3 separate regions of the Homo sapiens genome follow, and regions 2 and 3 are each linked to region 1. Evidence: promoter capture Hi-C in 16 types of primary human blood cells and fetal thymus (Javierre and others, 2016). All regions are on one chromosome and are shown on one strand. The core of a region is centred on a gene start or on the middle of the fragment in contact, and the rest is flanking DNA. Distances in the headings are between cores, read along the strand shown. Region 1 holds the start of SLC25A29 (solute carrier family 25 member 29). Region 2 has its middle 79 kb from the start of EVL. Region 3 holds the start of LINC00523 (long intergenic non-protein coding RNA 523).

Region 1 (2,700 bases), core at 201-2,700:
CCTGGACTAGGAGTCAGCAGACCTAGGGTTTGGGTCTCTGCTTAACATTCTACTTAGACTCTAAAAGGAAACTAACATGAGCACTGGGGACCCCTGCCCCTAGCACCAGGCTGCACTACTGACAACACCTACCTGTGTGTCCTAGTACCAAATACACAGAACCTTTCGACCTGCACCTCCAGGAGGTAGGTACCCACTGGAATTTGGATAAAAGAACCATGTGACCCTAAACCTGGAAACGTGGCACACGGTGTGGCCTTGCCTGCCTGCAGGCCCTAAAGAAGGAAGCTGGGCCCGGCCTAAGGCTGATCTGACTCCTACAGCGAAGAGAAAGCGCCTGGCCCGTCCCTGCTCCCAGGCTCCAACCTGACAGTCTGGACCTCCAGAGGCGCTGGGGAAGGGCTGGTGGGAAGTCACCGAATGGGACGCTCCACAGGGACCAGGGCAGTCCCTTGCCACTGCGAATGTCAGGGACTCCTGGGGGGCCGAGTCAGACTCGGCTCTCATTCATCCCCGCAGCCCATGGATACCCTGGTGACCCAGAGCCAAGCACCCTCCGACTTCAGCGCCTGAGCGCGGCCCCTACCGAGCCCCTCCGGTCTCGCCCCGTCCGGCCGCCGCTGACGGAGGCGCTGCGATCTGGCCCGACTCCACTCTGCAGCCCAGTCCAGGAACCTCCCTCTCTCCACAACCTTCCGCGGCTCCCGCGACCCGCAGTCCTCGGGAAGGAGCTGTGGCCCGAAGGCCTGCTGCGCCCTTTGCCCATGGCCCCTTTCCCTTTTAAGGTTCCCTGCTCTCCGCCCAAATCCCAGCCTCAGGCTCCGCAGGAAGCGCCCGTGCGCGTCCGACCCCCAGAACCCGGCGGGTTCGGCCAGGAGTCCGGAAGCCCCGGAGGCCACCGCCGCCGCGGGCGCGCAGGCGGGACGGGCAGAGGCTCCCCACGGGCGATTCCCGCTCGCGGAGTTTCGCAACTAGCGGCGTCCCAGTCTGCGGGCCTCGGAACGTCCCGGCGCTCCACGGCCGTTTTCGCGGCAGGGTCCGCACGGCACAGACTAGGGCGCTGAGGTTCTGCGGCGGCGCCGGACTCCGAACCCAGGGTCCGGTTCCCGACCCGGTCCAGACCAGAGCCACCCCGCGTACTCCGGGTGGGGGAGTCCTCGGCTCAACCCCGCCACCCCGCGCGTCCCCTCCCGCCGGACCTGCGCACCCAGCGCGCTCTTTGTCTGAGGCGTCCCCGCGCCCCGCCCGCGCGCCCACCACGTCCCCCGCGCCCCGCCTCCCGCGCACGCCCGGCCAATGAGGCGCGGCGGCGAAGCGCAGTGCCCGGGGTGTTGTCCGCGCCGTGCCCGCCCATTGGCCTCACTCGGCGCCCCCACCCGGGCCCTGCCGGCAGGCACGAGGGGCGGGGCGCGCGGCCCGAGGTGAGGGACCGCGGGCCGGAGGGGATCCAGCGAGTCAGCTGCCGCCGAGGGACCAGCGCGGGTCTAGCTGCTGCCGCCATCCCCACCATCCCTGACCGCGCCTGCCCGGGCTCCGCGCCAGGAGGAGCGGCCAGGCCCAGCCCCGGCACCGCGCGCTCGGGGACCCCGACGGCGCCCAGCCCGGCGAGGGGCCTCAGGGGGAGGACGAGGAGGAAAGGCGGCCTCGCCGGGGACCCGGCCATGGCGCTGGACTTCTTGGCTGGATGCGCGGGGGGTAAGGAGGCGGCGGGCCGGGCCGGGCCGGGGCGAGGCGTCCGGGGAGGGAGGTCGGCCCACCAGCACGCCCTGGCCTCGCGGCTTCCCGCTGGCGGGGGTCGCCGCGTCTGTGAATGGGGACCACAGTTCTCTTGCCTCGGGCGGGTCTCGTGGGCGTAAATTGACTTCAGGCCCGGGCTGTCCGCGAGGGCAGGTGTCTTTATTCTCTCTGGGCACGCTCGGACGGGAGGTCTGGGGCGCCGGGGCAGCACCGTGGCTGAGCGGAGGCCAGGACTGCCGGGAGGATGCCCCACTGCCCCCCGCGCCGAGGTCCCGGGCTCATCTCCTTCCCCTCCCCCATCCCCATCCGTTGCGCACTGGGAGCAGGGTCCCCTCCCCCGGCCGTATATTTCGGGACTGACTCCACCCCGTCCCGCGCAGCCATCCAGCGGGGTTGGGGCTACGGAGCCGACCCCCTACTCGGCTGGCCTTGGAGGGCACTGAACCACTCTGGCGCCGAGTCACGCCTTGGAACGCCGCCCCTTCCTACGCGGTTTTGTGAGCTGTTGGGGGCGGAAGGGGGGTGGTGGGTGGGTCGGGCGAGCCGGTGTGGGGCACCTTCTCCGAGGCGCGGTCGCGGCTCTGGGGTTCCTCCCATGCAGTTGTCCCCGGGAGGGCCCGGGCGGGCGTGCAGTCCAGGCTCTCCCATGCCCCGACCGTGGGCGTCGGGCACGGCACTTCCCTGTTGGGCCTCTGGCTTCTCTGCTTTTACCTTGAGGGTTAATTTATTCACCAGGATTTAGATGTCGGGGGCGGGGGAGGGTGGTTGGCGGCGGGAGTTGCTGAGAGGGCCGGCCGCTTATCCCTGTTTGGTCCCACTTTTCTCCCAGCACCTGCCCTTGTTCACCGCCTCTTCATCTACTTGGATTTGGCTCGAATAAACCCTCAGCTCCCGGCCAGCGCTGAGAGCCCTGGCGGAAGAGTGGGTAGCGGTGGCCTTAAGTATTAAATCTGTGGCGTCGGA
Region 2 (2,700 bases), core at 105-2,604, 320 kb after region 1:
TCTTTTATAAGGACACTAATCCCATATATGAGAGTTCAACCCTCATGACCTAATCATATTCCAAAGGCCCCACCTCTTAATAATATAATCTTGGCGGGGGGTAGTATTTCAACATATGAATTTTGGGAGCACACAAACTTTTAGACCATAGCAAAATATAAGAGTTCTTTATATATTCTAGATATAAATCTCTTATCAGATATATGATTTGCAAATATTTTCTCCCATTATCAGGATTGTCTTGTCACTTTATTGACGGTACCATTTTCAGCAGAAACATTTTTAATTTTGATAAAATCCAATTTATTTATTTATTGGTCATTTGTGCTTTTGGTGCTATTTCTAAGAAACCATTGTCTAACATAAGGTCACACAGATTTACTCTTGTATTTTCTCCCATAAGAGTTCTAAAGTTTTAGTCTTCCCACTGAAGTTTACAATCTACTTTAAGTTGAATTTTGTATATGGTGTGAGGTAGGGTCCAATTTCATTCTTTTGTATGTGGGTACTTTGTCCCAGTATTTGTTGAAAAGGCTATTTTCCCCCATTGAATTGTCTGGCACTCTTGTCAAAAAACAATTGCTCATAAATGTAGGGGTAGTAAGTCCAGTTGTAGACATGCTGAATTGCACGTACTTATGCTCTATCTCCTTGGAACTAGGCTACATGTGTAGAAAACCATGTCTTCAATTCATAGTCCAGAAATCTGCACAGTGAACTCAATAAATATTTGTGCAATTATTACCATATGTGCACTTCACAGTCATGCTGCCTCATCACCCATAGCCTTGGACACTCTGAAGCATATCACTCTGATCTTGTGAAGGCACCAGCTGGTTCCCTTCCTAGCGCTGCTCCTCTAATTGGGACACTATCTGATTCAGTCTGTTGCTTACTGTTTGATTTTTCCTTAATGATACAAATTGAGGAGAGCATTTTCCTTCTTCCCAGGAAAGAAAATGCTCATAAACGGGACCCTGAAGCTGTCCTCTTAGAAATCTCAGCTGGTAGAAAGAAGCAGTGCCAGTGGATACATTTGATTTTTTTTTTTTTTTTTTTTTTGAGACAGAGTCCACTCTGTCACCCAGGCTGGAGTACGGTGGTGCAATTTCAGCTCACCACAACCTCCACCTCCCAGGTTCAAGCGATTCTCATGCCTCACCCTCCCGAGTAGCTGGGACTACAGGCACATGCCACCACGTCTGGCTAATTTTTATATTTTTAGTAGGGACAGGGTTTAGCCATGTTGGTCAGGCTGGTCTTGAACTCCTGACTTCAGGTGATCCGCTCGCCTTGGCCTCCCAAAGTGCTGGGATTACAGGCATGAGCCATCGTGCCCAGCCAATACATTTGATTTTGATCTATCAGCAAAGAGGCTCCAAGGTTTAGTATGTTTCCATTTTGTATTCAGGGTTTCATTTGTGTGCTAGGTCGAACATCTTTCTGTATTCAAGCCGAAGTTAGAGATCTAAATTGCTAAAGGACTTCAGCAGGCCAGAGCTCAGTGAAAGGAAGGTCCACAGAAGGGCCACTAATTAGTAATGAATGGCTAAAAGACAAGGGACTTTTTTTTTTTTTTCTTTCTGAGATGGAGCTTCGCTCTTGTTGCCCAGGCCAGAGTGCAATGGCGCAATCTTGGCTCACCGCAACCTCCACCTCCTGGGTTCAAGCGATTCTTCTGCCTCAGCCTCCCAAGTAGCTGGGATTACAGGCATGCACCACCACACCCAGCTAATCTTGTATTTTAAGTAGAGACGGGGTTTCTCCATGTTGGTCATGCTGGTCACGAACTCCCGACCTCAGGTGATCCGCCCACCTGAGCCTCCCAAAGTGCTGAGATTACAGGCATGAGCCACCACGCCTGGCCAAGACCAAGGACTTTTAACCAAGAAAAGGCAAGACTTACTGAAGTCCATTGTCTTCAAGCATCTGAAAAGCCAACTGGAAGAAAGACCAGTTCAAGGAAGTACAAAGGTGAAGAACCAAAACAGAAGATAAGCCCAGTCAAAATCCTGCCAGTTCCCCTAGGCCCATCTCAAATGTAATAATAATAATAAATAAAAATTATGTCGTTCATACCTCTTTTCTGACACTGCCATCTCATATGCCCCATGCTATTCTTCTTGGCTATAAACTCCTTGAGGCTTATGTAGGTCTCCATAGCTCTCTATCCCTAGCCCCACTATCTTGCATATAGTAGGTACTCAATATATATATATCTGTCAAGCAAAAATGTAAGCAAATGTGATTAAAATTAAATGAGTTAAGTCTGAGAAACCATCAGCACCAAGAGGAGCCTAAAGAGATATAACAACTTAACGTTGTTATATACAAACTAAACTAAATGTCCTGAATGGGATCCTGGAACAGAAAAAGGATACCGGGTAAAAACAACAGAAACTTTAATAAATGCTGGACTTTAATTAATAATAATGTCAGCTGGGCACAGTGGCTTATGCCTGTAATACCAGCAATTTCAGAGGTCCAGGTGGGTGGATCACCTGAGGTCAGGAGTTCGAGACCAGCCTGGCCAACATGGTGCAACTCAGTCTCTACTAAAAATACAAAAAAATTAGCCGGGTGTGGTGACGCACACCTGTGATTCCAGCTACTCGGGAGGCTGAGACAGGAGAATCGCTTGAAACTGGGAGGTGGAGGTTGCAGTGAGCCGAGATCGCACCACTGCACTCCAGCCTGGGT
Region 3 (2,700 bases), core at 102-2,601, 350 kb before region 1:
AGCAAACTTTGCAGGTCCCCTGCAACTGGACGGGGACAGCCCTGAGTGGTGAAGCGGGGCTCTGTGGCATATCCCCCGGCAAGGAGCCCCCCTGGCCACACCCACTGTCCAGGGATGCTGCCCCCAGCCAGACCCTCAGCCTCCTAGTCCTGGACCGAGACAGGGTGGGCTCGGGCCACACATGAGACCTCCCGTATATGTCCTGGGCTAGCACAACTGCTGGGTTGGCCAGCACTGGGCTAGGTCTGACCCCAAGATGGAATAAACAAAGGAAAATCCATGACAACTGGACTTAGCTCAGGGTGGGCCCTGCCCTGACATCCTCTCATCCCGCAGAGCTGCCCACACACTCAGGGGCATGGAGGAGCCACAGGCTGGCCAGGGGCCCAGCACCCTGGAGGACACAGAGAGGCACGGAAGTCACCTGGGCTGGAGGGGAGGAGTCAAGGCAGCCCTCCCAGGGACAAGGCCCTTCCGGCTGCAGCTGCAGAGAGGGAGGGAGGAGGAGGAGCAGGTCTGCCCTCTGTTCTGACACCAGGGGCCTTCTGGAGCTCCCCCAATGCTGCTCTCCCCATGCTCCTCCTCCCCTCCATGGCCTAGCCACCTCCCCTTTGCCCTCCTGGCTGCAGCCTCTGCTCCCCTCCCCATCCCACTTGCCTGAGCCAGCGCCACCTGGCCACATCCTGTATCTGCCCTCACTGCCACTCCCCAGGGCCCCTAGTAGCCCCCTGCTGTCCACAGGGACAGTCCCACCCCTCCCCACCGGGAACAGAGCCCAGCACCATGTGGCCCCTCAGGCTGTCCAGCTCCAGGACTCCTGTCCTGGCCACACCCTGCACTGTGGCCCCAGGTGCTTGGGGGCGTTCCCTGCACCTCCAAGCTTTAGCCACAGGTGCATCCTCCTGCTGGAAGGTTCTCCCTCCCCTCCCCACCTACTGTTCTTGCCCCAAGACTGGTCTTCATAGCCCGTCTCTGGGGCCTCTCCCCATTCCCTGGCTCATCCACAGTGAACCCCTCCTGGCTTGTCCAGACCCCACCTCACCTGGACCACAGCTTGTCACAGTTGGCCTGCATGCCAGACAGTGGCTCCTCGGGGCAATGACAGCATCTTTCTTTTCTTGAGCTTCTCTGAGGCCAGCCCAAGACACAGTTCAACCCGTGTTTGTTGAATGAATAAATGACCTACAATGGGGCCTTACCCTTTCACACCCAGGACAAAGTCATTTGCTCCCTCCAGGTTTACTTTGCTTTACTTTGCTAAACCACCACGCTTGCTCTCCTCTGCTTCACTCTTGCCTCCCACTGCCCACACCGAGTGTCCACCTTAAAGGGAACCCCAGAGCCAATGAGGGAGGCATGAAATCCTGACTTCCGACTCCTCCCCACCTGAGCTCCTCCCACTGGAACCTCCTGATGGGGCAGAAGGTTCAGGCTCACCTGAGCTGGGACCTGCCTGTGCTCCTAAGGGCATGGCCTTTCCGGCAGTTGGCTCCAAGTCACTTTGGAGAGACATTAGCATCCAGGCTCCTCTGACCCTCGAACGGGAGTTGCTTTTTGCGCCTCCCGGCAGGGAGCCCCCAGTGTCCTTGTCTTCTGGTGTCACCTGCTTCACAGCACGTCTCCCAAAATGCTTCAGAGCATTTCCATTTTTCCACGAAAGAAATGACCCGTTTCCTGGGCTCCTTTCTCCTCTGTGCCTCTGTGGCAGAGAGAGCTGCCTTTGTCGTAAAATAATTTCGGGCGCTTGCCTCTCTCTCACGCACAACTGTTCAAGGCTCTTTCCTCCGACTGACTTTCATGTCGCAAAACTCTATTAAGCTTTCATCTGCCTGGGGGAGCCGTGCCTTGAGGAACCAGGGAAGGGAAGGAGTGCTCCGGACAGTGCGCAGGGGATATGTAAATGGGTGCAGAACCCAGAGCCTGCCTCTGCCCTCCAGTCCACCCACCCGTCTCCAAGCGAGAACCGCCCTGCCTCGCGCTCCCCCGCCTGTTCTGGAAAGGGCGGTGTGAGGCAGGCAGGGCAGAGCCACCCTGAAATCCTCATCTGGATTTTTTGTTCATTCCAGTGGCAAAGAAGCTCACTCCCAGGAAACCGGGTGCATTCGAGGAAGGTGCTTTGGTGGAAAGAGCACTGGGGCAGGAGTCCAGGCCTGGGTTCGAGTGACAGCGGGTGCTGATTCCTCAGGGTTTCCACACTTCCTGGCAGGGAGGGCCTGGCTGCGTTGCCGTCTCTAATATTTGCCTAATATAGAATGGACCACTTGCTGGGACTCCACACATGTCTGAATATCCACCGCCGCAGGATTTTGTATTCCTTCTCTCTAAGAGGAACCCCCTAACTGTGTATGCTGAGATGCCACCAGGCTGGACGTCCCCATCAGAGCTGCCACATCTCCCTGCCGTGTGGCCCTGGGTGAGCCACCTTCTCTGTGTGCCTCAGTCTCCCAACTGTGTTTCCTCAGTGTTGTGAGGACTGAGTTCCATCGCAAACCACTCTCGCATGTGCCAATGGAGTGTTATGGTTTCCAAATACATGCACCCATCATGGGCTCTAATTCCCACCAAAAAAAAAAAAAAAAGCTCTGAGGTTTTCACCAGTGAGCCAGCTGATAGCAGCCAAACCAGAGCTGGGTTCAGGGTAACCAGCCTCCAACCATTTCAAAGCAGCCTTCGGACCTAACTTTCCATTTCCTCTGGGCA

What was found. The method cuts DNA at HindIII sites, captures the fragments that hold promoters and counts their contacts. A CHiCAGO score of 5 or more calls a contact.
Region 2: a contact is called between a fragment that was not itself captured here and the fragment with the promoter of SLC25A29 in region 1, in 1 of 17 cell types (fetal thymus). The highest score is 5.2, in fetal thymus.
Region 3: a contact is called between a fragment that was not itself captured here and the fragment with the promoter of SLC25A29 in region 1, in 1 of 17 cell types (megakaryocytes). The highest score is 5.6, in megakaryocytes.

Annotation. Positions count from the first base shown.
Region 1 is chr14:100,305,194-100,307,893 of GRCh38, reverse strand. SLC25A29 (solute carrier family 25 member 29) reads left to right here and starts at 1,450. Exons shown (of 4, transcript NM_001039355.3): 1 at 1,450-1,695. The coding sequence starts at 1,662. It overlaps MIR345 (microRNA 345), which reads right to left and starts at 35; the gene lies at 1-35. RefSeq lists enhancers at 470-639, 670-739, 1,948-2,514 and silencers at 830-899, 990-1,459, 1,520-1,619. The HindIII fragment of the contact is 14,672 bases long and covers 1-2,700 here.
Region 2 is chr14:99,984,653-99,987,352 of GRCh38, reverse strand. It overlaps a transcript of EVL not described here. Among named protein-coding and RNA genes, the nearest start is that of EVL, 79 kb to the left of the region's middle. The HindIII fragment of the contact is 8,165 bases long and covers 1-2,700 here.
Region 3 is chr14:100,656,448-100,659,147 of GRCh38, reverse strand. It overlaps LINC00523 (long intergenic non-protein coding RNA 523), which reads right to left and starts at 1,880. Exons shown (of 2, transcript NR_024096.1): 1 at 1,438-1,880. The HindIII fragment of the contact is 938 bases long and covers 883-1,820 here.